4 separate regions of the Homo sapiens genome follow, and regions 1, 2 and 3 are each linked to region 4. Evidence: promoter capture Hi-C in 16 types of primary human blood cells and fetal thymus (Javierre and others, 2016). All regions are on one chromosome and are shown on one strand. The core of a region is centred on a gene start or on the middle of the fragment in contact, and the rest is flanking DNA. Distances in the headings are between cores, read along the strand shown.

Region 1 (2,700 bases), core at 129-2,628, 330 kb before region 4:
TTTGTGCATGGAACTTTAATTGATAGCAATAAAGCTGTCTGCCCATATCCTGATGTGGGGAGATTTGCAGGCACCAGAAGCCTGATTTCTGAGTTGGAGAAGGGTTCTTATTTGAATCCTTATTTGCTGGAAAAGCAAAATATGAGCTGATCATCTACCTCTTAATGAATTAGAAATCACTTATGTGGGTGCCCTGTGTGCTCAGCTAATGAGTCCTTTTTAAAAGGTTATTTCTGCTGGAGACCAGCCTTTGACATTTGACTGGCGACTACTGCAGATTTATTCATTCAGCAAATTTATTCTTGCAGTAACTCTCAAAATCAGTGCACACTATTACACAGCACAGGCCCTATTTGTGAAATTATTTATAGGCTTATTTAGAAATTTCAGCTTCCTTAAGATGGACAATTTTATTGGCTGATTTAAGCTCAACTCTCAGGCAAAGACAACTCACCCGCCTCCTAGTTCAGGCTCCTGGATTCCTGCCACCCCAACTGCCTAGTCTGCCTGTGGGAACATTTCGGCACATGTTGAAATGTTCTGCCTCTGCCGGCCCTGGCTGCCCTCAGACTCCATGGGTTTACAGAGCAGGATCTGGATTTATGACTTCAACAGGAAATGCAAAATACACAAAGTTCCAGCAAGAAGGGAGAAGGAGTGGTGATTATTCGGGGGATTCCAGAATGCTTGAAGGGGCGCTGAGTCTCCTGTGTATCCGTGTCTTGTCTCTCTCTTCCTCCCCCTTACTCCTTACCCTTCTTTTTCCCTTTCCTCATTCTTTCCCTCTCCCCGCTTCTCTCCCTTACCCTTTCTCGCTCCTTGCTGTGCCTTCCAGTTGCCAAGGTGACTTATTTTAAAAAGAGCCATCCACTTCTTGAAATGTGGTATTTGCTTTCATACTGAATAACGAGGACCAATCATCTTCAGAGCTCTGATCCTCCAGAAAAGGGCCCCATCTCCCCTTCAGAGAAGTCCTGAAGTCCTGACCACACTGGGACTTGAAGTAAGCAGTGGGAATCCACTGGAATTTGGCAGAACCTTGGGATTGTCATGGCCAGCCTCTGATGTCAAAATGTGACCAATCCCTCGCGAACACATCTCTCTAGCAGAATAACAGTAGTTGGAAGTAGATCTTCCCTCCAAAAATCTGTCTATACTTGAGTTGCACGGCAGGGGGCCAGGGTTGACACTTATTACAAATTTATTCATTTTTGCCAGATCCCTTCTGCCACAAGAGGGTTTTATCTAGACAAGGTTCCTAAATTGGCTTTGCAAAATGTAATCCTCTATTGATTGTCTCATCTCCTGTAATCCATCCAGTTATTGGAGAATGTTTGTTAAATTTCTATTTTAATAAAAACATCAACCACAACATTTATCTTCCTTTGTTAAATGGAAACAAAGCATAATCTAATTTTAAAAATACTATAAGCTGATAATCAAAATTCAACAACTGTATGCCCTGAACTCAACTAATTTCCACTTCAAATGCTCCTAATCCACATAGGCTTTGGCAATGAATGATGACGTTCTGGTATGGAAGAGGCAATCTGCATGCCACATTTGCTCTACCAATTTACTAAATTAAGTGGCAAGACAATAAAGGAATGGCGTTTTAATGAGAACAGCCTAATTAAAAGTGAATCCGAGGATATAAGGTTTGAGTTCTATTACTGACTGCATACCTCAAAGAATGTGAAGAGCTGCAAAGAAGCGTTTGAGAGGTGCATCCATGCACATGGCGTCTTGTGTGTCCGTGAGTCTTTCTTCCATGAATACTACTTATCACTAATCATTATCAGTAGTAATCATTACTTACATGTCTATAAGTTATCAGTAAGAGCAGCCATTTTTGAGCTCCCATGGAACAATCTATGTAGGTATGTAGATGCCTTACATACAATCTAATCCATATCCTAAAACCCTGCAAGATGGCAATATTACCATCACTTTACAGATGAAGTGTTTGTGGTTCAGAAGGTTAACCCAGGTGATGAGTATCGTAGGGCAGGGATTTGAATCTTGGTCTGGTGCCCGAATCCATGGCCATTCCATCTGACCACTCTGCCTGTCCATGTACAGCAAGCAAAGCAATGTGCCTCGAGTTTTATTTTCTCCCAGCAGAAAGTTCATCTGCCTGACGTTGTTTACTTGTCTGTTCATCTGCGGGGCTGATATCTTTACAGAAGAGGAATGCCAGTAATTTTACAAGAACAACAGTTGTGCATATTGGGTGTTATAGAGCTGGAATCCAGCACTGATTTTGGTGACCTAGTAAGCAGAGGGTTTAGACATTCTGATTAGGTGGGGAGAGGCCTAAACTTCTCCCAGATAACAAACATGTATCCAGCAGGTAGGACAGCCTCCCTTTGAGCATGAAAGGGTATAACTGGCCTTGGTTAAGAAGACGTGAGGAGGAAGTTGTGGCTCACTGCCGAGGATGGGCGCCTGCGGTGGTTCCAGCAGGAAGGATGGTTTTGCACTCACTGTGGTGAGATCAAACGTTGTACCTGCTGCTCAGGTGGGCTTGGGAAAGGGTGAGGGCCTGTACCTCCCTCTCTAGTCCAGGTGGCCACTGGCTGCTGTGCAGAGAACAGGAAGGAAACCTCTGCTCTCATTCCCACCGCCCTCCTCTGCCCGGAAAGCAGCCCTCAAAAATGGAATTAGAGTCAATGAGCCGAGCAGAGGCAAGCCGAGGGC
Region 2 (2,700 bases), core at 164-2,663, 270 kb before region 4:
AAACACATTCCAGATATACAAAAACTGAGAAAATCTGATGCTAGTTGATCTACCCACCTTATAGAAAATAGCAACGAAAGCTTTTTTAGGCTAAAATCAAGTGACCACAGATAATAATTTAAACCAACATAAAATGACAAAGAGCACTAGTAAAGACAGCCGGGTCATTATAAAAGATAGTATGAATGCACATGTCTCTGCCGTTCTTAACTCATTTAACAAAGTGATTGCGGCTGGGCGTGGTGGCTCACGCCTATAATCCCAGCCCTTTGGGAGGCCGAGGTGGGTGAATTACCTAAGGTCAGGAGTTCGAGACCAGCCTGGCCAATATGGTGAAACCCTGTCTCTACCAAAAATACAAAAAAAAATACAAAAAACGAGCCAGGTGTGGTGGCGGGCACCTGTACTCCCAGCTACGTGGGAGGCTGAGACAGAAGAGTTGCTGGAACCCGGGAGGCAAAGGTTGCAGTGAGCCAAGATCATGCCACTGCACTCCAGCCTGGACAACAGAGGAAGACTCTGTCTCAAAAAAATAAAAAAGAAAAAAGAAAGTCTTGTATGAAAATAAAAATATAATTTTATCATTGGGCCCATTACATATATAAATGTAATATATTTTCCAATAATGGAACCAAGGAGGTAAGTGAGAACAAAGCTATTTGCGGATAAAGAATTATCTCCTGATAATAACTTGAATGCACCAACACAAATGGGGTAAACCAGAAATTCAAAATAAGGTTAATATCACAAAAGTTGTAGACATACAATTGCTCTTTCATTTCTCAGCTTCTTTAAAAGAAACAACATTACGTAAAATAATAAAACAAGAAAACCTTTGAAGGATGAGGCCGCAAGGAAAGGGCCTGGGTAGGTTTACCTGGCTGCAGAGAGTGGGGCCTCCGGACACTGTCCTATGGGCTCTTGGGTACCCCACAGGCACCATGAGAGGTTCCCAGGGCATCGAAAGCAGAGTTTGAAGGCAGTAACCCCAAAGCTCCTGCAATCAGCATGGCTGCCCCCAGGTACAGTGAAAGCACCACCCTCCTGGTGCTTTTCCACCGTGGTTACTCGAGACATTTATCTCTCCCATTTACAAACCACTTAGACAACTGGTTTCTCTCCAAGCTTTCAAGCCTCAGATGGTTAAATGCAGAATCATGATGTTGGTCTTCTTTAAATAAGACTGTTAGACAAATACAACTGTAACCATAACAGGAAAGACCCCAGCACTGTAATAATAAGCATTTCCCAGGGCTTTCCTGCCCTGAGGCCGAGGGCACCTGTGGGCTTGCTCATGCTTGCTGGCACCGTTGGGGCTGGTGCATCAGCAGCCGGGCCACCGACCTGTCTCCTGCTCTAGCCACTCTTAGGGGACCTGGTTTTATAGAGCTTTGTGGCCCTTCCTCTGATGTAATGAAGTGGAATGCTACACATCCAGTAAAGATCTTAATACACACCACACTGAATGCATCAACATGTCTCGTATCAGCAGAGAGCCCAATTAATAAATTTAAAAAAAAAAGGCAAGCCTCAGTTTCCCTACTATAAGTGAAGGGGTGGGGAGGCTGACCAGTAGGGTGACCCACCTCCCAAACACTGTATAAATCCATGACAAAGGCTTGAAATGCCTGCCGATTACACTGATTCTCAATGAGCCAAATTTTAAATACACACCCAATTCAATAAGAGTCCTAAGCTTTACCTGTCGTCATGGGGCCTGGCCAGCACACAGCCATCAGAGTCTCAATGAACACTGAACACCACCTGCAGCCCCATGCCACTTCTTTCTGGGCACACCCTTCCCTTCGAATGCACTTGTTTGTGTTTGTCCCTGGGAGATGGGAGGTGCCTGGCTGCTGCACACACAGGTGGGAGGCTGAGCATATTTCACACACGTCTGACACCTCCAAAGCCAAGAAGCAAACATCCTTGACCTCTGCCTGTCCAGCTCCACAGACTGCACATTTTACTGCTCTGCTGTAATTACAATGAAAACAAACACAATTTAATCCTCATGATTAACTAGAGCTCTTGCTGTGTGCTGTTCAGCACAGTGTGCGGATCAAGGCTTCCTGGAGCCCTGGGGAGGGGACAATCACCTCCACATCATTGCTTTGTTCTGCTTGACAGGAAGAGCCATCAGCCAGGGCCCTCGCTTTACACCTATGCAACTACAAAGGGCCCTGACCATACCTGTGTGACAGAGCCAGAAATGTTGATGTGTCCACACAACAGAAGGCTAGCTCACGGGCCTGGCTGTTGGGCCCCCATTGGGCGTCTTGGCAGAAATGGACCCGTGTAAGACACTTCAGGCCAAGTGCTCATGCTACTGACCTCCTTCCTGCAGACACAGTGCCCTCTAAAGGGAGGGAAAGGCTCTCCATCCAGAGAAGGGCACATGGGGCTGAGAACACCTCAAACAGTCCAGCCTCACTGCTTGTAAACAGAGTGGCCTTCCTCTCACAGCAGAGGCAGGATGGGGTTCTGAAGTCACCTGCCTGCCTGGCTTCAACCATTTACCTTCCATTACTCTCTGTAGGGGAGGAAGAAGTCCCTCCCCTGAAACCATGCACTTAGGAACTTGGTTCAGACACACGCTAGGGTCACCTGAAGTTTCCGTGCCTTCTGTCCCTGGATTGCCCATGGACAGTATCAGGCCATAAGATTGCAAGTCTTCTCTTCACCCTCTGCAGGCCGCTT
Region 3 (2,700 bases), core at 92-2,591, 470 kb before region 4:
GCCTAAAATGCCTATGGTCACCACTCCTGCTATGCTGCCTTCTCTCTCCCAGCCTGCACCTGTGGCCTCCTGGGCAGTTCCATAGGATCACACAGGAAGATAAGACTTGAGCCTGGTTCACAGATGGTTCTGCACCATATGCAGGCACCACCTGAAAGTGGGCAGCTGCAGCACTGCAGCCCCTCTCTGGGACATCCCTGAGGGACAGCAGTGAAGGGAAAGCCTCTCAGTGGGCAGAACTTTGAGGAATGCACCTGGTTGTGCACTTTGCTTGGAAGGAGAAGTGGCTAGAAGTGTGATTGTTTAATGATTCATAGGCTGTGGCCGATGATTTGGCTGGTTGGTCAGGGACTTGCAAGAAACATAATTGGAAAATTGGTGACAAGGAAATTGGAAAAGCACATGTGAAAAGACCTCTTTCAATGGGAAAACATGTGGTGAAATTTGTGTGCCATTTAAATGCTCACCAAAGGGTGACCTCAGCAGAGGAGGACTTTAGTAATTCCACAGATGGGATTCTGTGGAGCACAGTCAATGACTGAGCCTCTTTCCTCAGCCATTCCTGTCATTGCCCAGTGGACCCATGAACAGAGTGGCCACTGTGGATGGAGGTGATGCATGGGCTCAGCATCATGGATTTCCACTCACCATGGCCAACCTGGCTACGACTACCACTGTGTCCAATCCACCAGCAGCAGAGAACAACAGTGAGTCCCCAGCATGTCACCACTCCCTGAGATGGTCAGCATCCACCTGGGGGCAAGGTGACTACCTTGGACCACCTCCATCAAGGAAGGGGCAATGGTGTTTTGTCCTTCCTGGAATGGATACTATTCACTCTAGATATGGATTTGTCTTCCCTACACACAATGCTTCTGCCAAAGTGAATATCCATGGACTTCAGAATGCCTTAACCACCATCACGGTATTCCACACAGCACTGCTTCTGACTGAGGAGCTCACTCCATAGCAAATGAAGTGCAGCAATGGGCTCGTGTGCATGGAACTCACTGGCTCTACCATGTTCCCCATTATGCTGGCAGCTGGCTTGACAGAATGTAGAATGACCTTTTGAAGACTCAGTTACAGCACCAGCTGGGTGACAGTCCCTTGCAGGGCTGGGACAATATTCTCCAGAAGGCTGGGTATGCTCTGAATCAGCATCAAATATATGGTGCTATTTCTCCTACAGCCAGGACTCATGGGCCCAGGAATCATGGGGCAGAAATGGGAGAAGCACCACTTATTATGACCCCTAGTAACCCACTAGCAAAATGTCTGCTTCTTGTTCTCACAACATTATGTTCTACTAGTCTAGAGGTCTTGGTTCCAGGGGGAGGAATGTTGCCACCAGGAAACATGACAATGATTCCATTGAGCTGGAATTCAAGACTGCCACTCAGCCGCTTTGGGATCCTTGTGGCTTAGAATCAAAGGCAGGAACGGGAACTACTGTGCTGGCTCGGGTGACTGATCCTGACCACCGTGGGAAACTGGACTGCACTCCATAGTGGACATGGGCAAGAGCATGTCTGGGATACAGGAGATCCCTTGGGGTGTCTCCTAGCACGCTCTCAATCACAATGCCCCGTGACTGAGGTCAATGGAAAACTATAACCACCCAATCCAGACAGGACTAAAAATGGCCCAGTCCCTTCAGGAATGAAGGTTTGGATCACCCCACCAGGTAAGGGTCCATGCCCAGATGAGGCGCTTTCTGAAGGGAAGGGGAATACAGATTGGATAGTAGACAAAGTAATTATAAATACCAGCCATGACCATGTGAACAGCTACAGAAATGAGGATTGTAACTGTTGTAAGTATTTCCTCCTATTTTGTTAAGAATATGTCTGTGTGAATGTGTATATTAAGCAGTACCTTTGTTTTCTTCTCTCTCTTATCTCACCATGTAATATAAGTTGCACTGACTTTATATGATATGATTATTATATGATAGTATTTAAGTTACAAGATATCAAGAAGAAGACGAAGCACCACTCAAAGACTCTGAATCCTCTTCTGGGAAGGGCGCATGCACTCTTGGTGTAGTCAGGCTTGTTGTATCATATTAGGCAGAAGTATGACTTTGCTTTTGTCTTTATGTGGAAACTAAGTATAGTTTAGGGAGATGTCAAGCTGACAAAGGATGGACGGTGATGGTGAGTTTTATGTCAGTGTGGCTAGGCAGGTACCCAGTTGTTTGAGCAAACACTAATCTAGATGTTGCTATGAAGGCATTTGGCAAATGTGTTAATATCTACAGCCAGTTTACCTTAAGTAAAAGAGATTACTGAAAGTACATACCTTGATAATGTGGGTGGGCCTCGCCCAATCAGCTGAAGGCCTTAAGAGCAATCACAGGCATCCTGTGGACAATGATTTTCTGCCTCAAGACTGCACAGCAACTCCTGACTGAGGGTCCAGCCTGCTGGGCTGCCCCACAGAATTCAGGCTTGCCAGCCTCCACAGTCACATAATTCCTTAAAATAAATAAATTCTCTCTCTCTCTCTCTCTCTCTCTCTCTGTCTCCTGCTGGTTCTGTTTCTCTGGAGATCCCTGACTGATACAAACCAATAATTAATTTTTATAGTATTCCCATGAGTACAAAAAGACATTATTCCCATTTTCACACTAAATAAACTGAAGTCTAGGGGAGTTGTAAGGTGACCTTAAAGTGAAAGAGAGAATAAATAAGAGTT
Region 4 (2,700 bases), core at 18-2,517:
CATGCCACCACCGGCTAATTTTTGTATATTTTTTTTTTTTTTTTTTTTTGAGACGGAGTCTCGCTCTGTCACCCAGGCCGGACTGCGGACTGCAGTGGCGCAATCTCGGCTCACTGCAAGCTCCGCTTCCCGGGTTCACGCCATTCTCCTGCCTCAGCCTCCCGAGTAGCTGGGACTACAGGCGCCCGCCACCACGCCCGGCTAATTTTTTGTATTTTTAGTAGAGACGGGGTTTCACCTTGTTAGCCAGGATGGTCTCGATCTCCTGACCTCATGATCCACCCGCCTCGGCCTCCCAAAGTGCTGGGATTACAGGCGTGAGCCACCGCGCCCGGCCTAATTTTTGTATTTTTAGTAGGGACGGAGTTTCACCATGTTGGCCAGGCTGATCCCAAACTCCTGACCTCAAGTGATCTGCCCGCCTCAGCCTCCAAAGTGCTGGGGTTACAGGTGTGAGCCACGGAGCCCAGACTGTTTCTTTCTTAAGCTCTTACTTTCTCATGTGTGAGTTACCTTGTAGGTTTCCAAGGCAGAGGGGACAAGATGGAAAAGGAGAACACAGAAATCTAGCCTGGAGGAGCTGCTCTGTTCCTGTATTTATCTGTGTAGGTGTGAATGAGGGAGAAAATGACAAGAGAATGACATTATTTTAAGGCTGTTTTCCCCCCCCCAATCATTTACTTTTTGAGAAATAATTGCCCAATACTGAAAGGTATGTCCTTTCAAAATGTTGATGTTTCAAATGGCTTCCTAATTACCTAGTTATACGGGGGGTGTGTATGGTTATCTGAAGTTACATGGGTATACACTGGTGGTGTGAGGTGTCCAGAGAGAGGAAAGGAAGAGCAGTCCTGGTGGCTCAAACCCTGAGGGATGTGCGGGGGATGGGTGAGAATGTGAACAGACATGTTGGAAGCTGAATCCGTGCAGTGGCACCCATGCCTGTAGCCATCTCAGTGGGGGGTCCTTCTACGAACAAGCTTTGATTAATGATATTTTAATGCTAGTTTAGCTTTTTAGCACTCCCACGCCTAAAGGCTCTGATAGAAGCAAGGCCCCCACCCCTGCAAAAAAAAAAATCCATGATTTTTACGCATTCCAACAGATCTCTTAAGGGGCAGACGGCCGGAGAGCCAGGTGTGCCAGGGACCTATGGCAGCAGGGCTGAACGTGCCCGCTCCAGCCTCTCCAGTGCTGGGAGAGACCTCTAGATGGTGCAGGTGAGTTTGCAATGAGGGAAAGCCCCTCGGCAAGGACTGAGTTTCCAAACTTGCAGACAGGGCAGGGAGCGGTCAAGGAAGAGTTCCCGGGAAGCCCTTTAAACGGAAAGGAAGCGGGGCTAGTGTCAGAGAGGTGTGCCAGGTCCCAGGCAGCCCTGCTGGCCCCTAAGGACATAGAGTACCTGCTTCTGAGAGGGCTGCCACGGTGGCCACCTGTGAAGCCTGTCACCCAGAACTGGATGGTACCTGACTTTCTTCATAGACCCATCTTCTGCTGGGACTGAAGCTGACCTCCAACAGAAGCCAGGTAAGCCCTGGTCCTTTCCTCTGGTTTTCTAAACTCTTCAGCTGTGGCCGAGACGGAGGTGTCATGGGCTGGGAGAGAGGCTGGGTGCATTTTTGAAATGCATGTCATTTTTGGGTTGCGTTTGAACAAGCTTTACCGATTGCAGTATGTCTGCGCTACCAGTTCTAAGACCTGAGATTGTTCCTTTGTTTTAGAAAAACATCAGAAACCCTGTTTTGCTGTTGGTTGCACATTTGGTTAGGGAGACAAATTCTGTGTGTGCTTCACAGGCTTTAAGATTTGGGCTACTGAAGCAACGGGTTCCTCCAGGGAGCGTGAAAAGTATGTTTCTCAGGTTTGCCCCTGTGCCCGGCTCACTGGGGAAGGCAGGCGCGGCAGGGACTCTAGCTGGGCTCTGTACCTGCCTCCAACTCTGCGTACCCGCTGTGACCTAAGAGACCTTCCAAGTGGGGTTTCCAGTCGTGTCTGAGACCCCCCATATCCTGGCCTCTGTGTTGGTGGCGGGGGAGCGGGGAGAGGGAGAGAAGGAGGGGAGTGGGTACCTATTTGTGATGATTGAGGTTTTCATTTCCAGCCAAGAGGTTCCTCTCAACACTCTGACAGACCGTGGGGTGGGTTGGGCTCCTAGACAGGAGTCGGCTCTGATTCAGTCGGCTCTGATTCCCAGCCTCCTGCAGCAGCCAAGCTTTGAGATGTCAGCTCAGGGAGAAGCGGGTGGCTGGGCAGGGAGGTCAGCAGGCGAGGTTCCCACTGGGTTTCCCTGCCCATGTTGTGCTGGGTCAGCAACAAGAGGGACAGTTAAAATCAACAAGCAGGGCAGATGCCGGTCAGTGGGCAATCCCACACAGCCAGGGGTACACGCATGTGAGGAGACGTACGGAGAGACAGGAGCACCACCGTCCTCTTCCCCAGTCCCCAGGCCACTGCTCTGTGGCTCTCAAGTGGCATTTTTGAGACACTTTCTAAGCAAGAGTGAAAGTGTAACAAAGAAGTGAAGAGCCATAATAGACTGAAGGAAAAAAGGGATCCAGGCATCTAAAATAGAGAATGTTTCTTGCCTGGCTTAATACTCTGAGATTTGTAAGTCATAGCCACTTAAAACCTTTAAAGATACATTTTGACAGAGGCCACCAAAAAGAGAGTGACTCTGGTCAAGGCTTGGAAATAAGCGTT

What was found. The method cuts DNA at HindIII sites, captures the fragments that hold promoters and counts their contacts. A CHiCAGO score of 5 or more calls a contact.
Region 1: a contact is called between a fragment that was not itself captured here and the fragment with the promoter of EDAR in region 4, in 4 of 17 cell types (naive CD8 T cells, total CD4 T cells, non-activated CD4 T cells and 1 more). The highest score is 7.3, in naive CD8 T cells.
Region 2: a contact is called between a fragment that was not itself captured here and the fragment with the promoter of EDAR in region 4, in 1 of 17 cell types (non-activated CD4 T cells). The highest score is 5.0, in non-activated CD4 T cells.
Region 3: a contact is called between a fragment that was not itself captured here and the fragment with the promoter of EDAR in region 4, in 7 of 17 cell types (M1 macrophages, M0 macrophages, naive CD8 T cells and 4 more). The highest score is 8.4, in M1 macrophages.

Annotation. Positions count from the first base shown.
Region 1 is chr2:109,320,182-109,322,881 of GRCh38, reverse strand. The region is part of intron 1 of SH3RF3 (SH3 domain containing ring finger 3); the gene reads right to left. It also overlaps a transcript of RANBP2 not described here. Among named protein-coding and RNA genes, the nearest start is that of MIR4266, 7.9 kb to the right of the region's middle. The HindIII fragment of the contact is 4,135 bases long and covers 1-2,700 here.
Region 2 is chr2:109,260,677-109,263,376 of GRCh38, reverse strand. All of the region lies in intron 1 of SH3RF3 (SH3 domain containing ring finger 3), which reads right to left. It also overlaps a transcript of RANBP2 not described here. Among named protein-coding and RNA genes, the nearest start is that of MIR4266, 52 kb to the left of the region's middle. RefSeq lists an enhancer at 2,381-2,700. The HindIII fragment of the contact is 571 bases long and covers 1,128-1,698 here.
Region 3 is chr2:109,458,398-109,461,097 of GRCh38, reverse strand. The region is part of intron 8 of SH3RF3 (SH3 domain containing ring finger 3); the gene reads right to left. It also overlaps a transcript of RANBP2 not described here. Among named protein-coding and RNA genes, the nearest start is that of MIR4266, 150 kb to the right of the region's middle. The HindIII fragment of the contact is 5,379 bases long and covers 1-2,700 here.
Region 4 is chr2:108,987,787-108,990,486 of GRCh38, reverse strand. It overlaps EDAR (ectodysplasin A receptor), which reads left to right and starts at 1,267. Exons shown (of 12, transcript NM_022336.4): 1 at 1,267-1,527. It also overlaps a transcript of RANBP2 not described here. RefSeq lists an enhancer at 2,293-2,700. The HindIII fragment of the contact is 677 bases long and covers 983-1,659 here.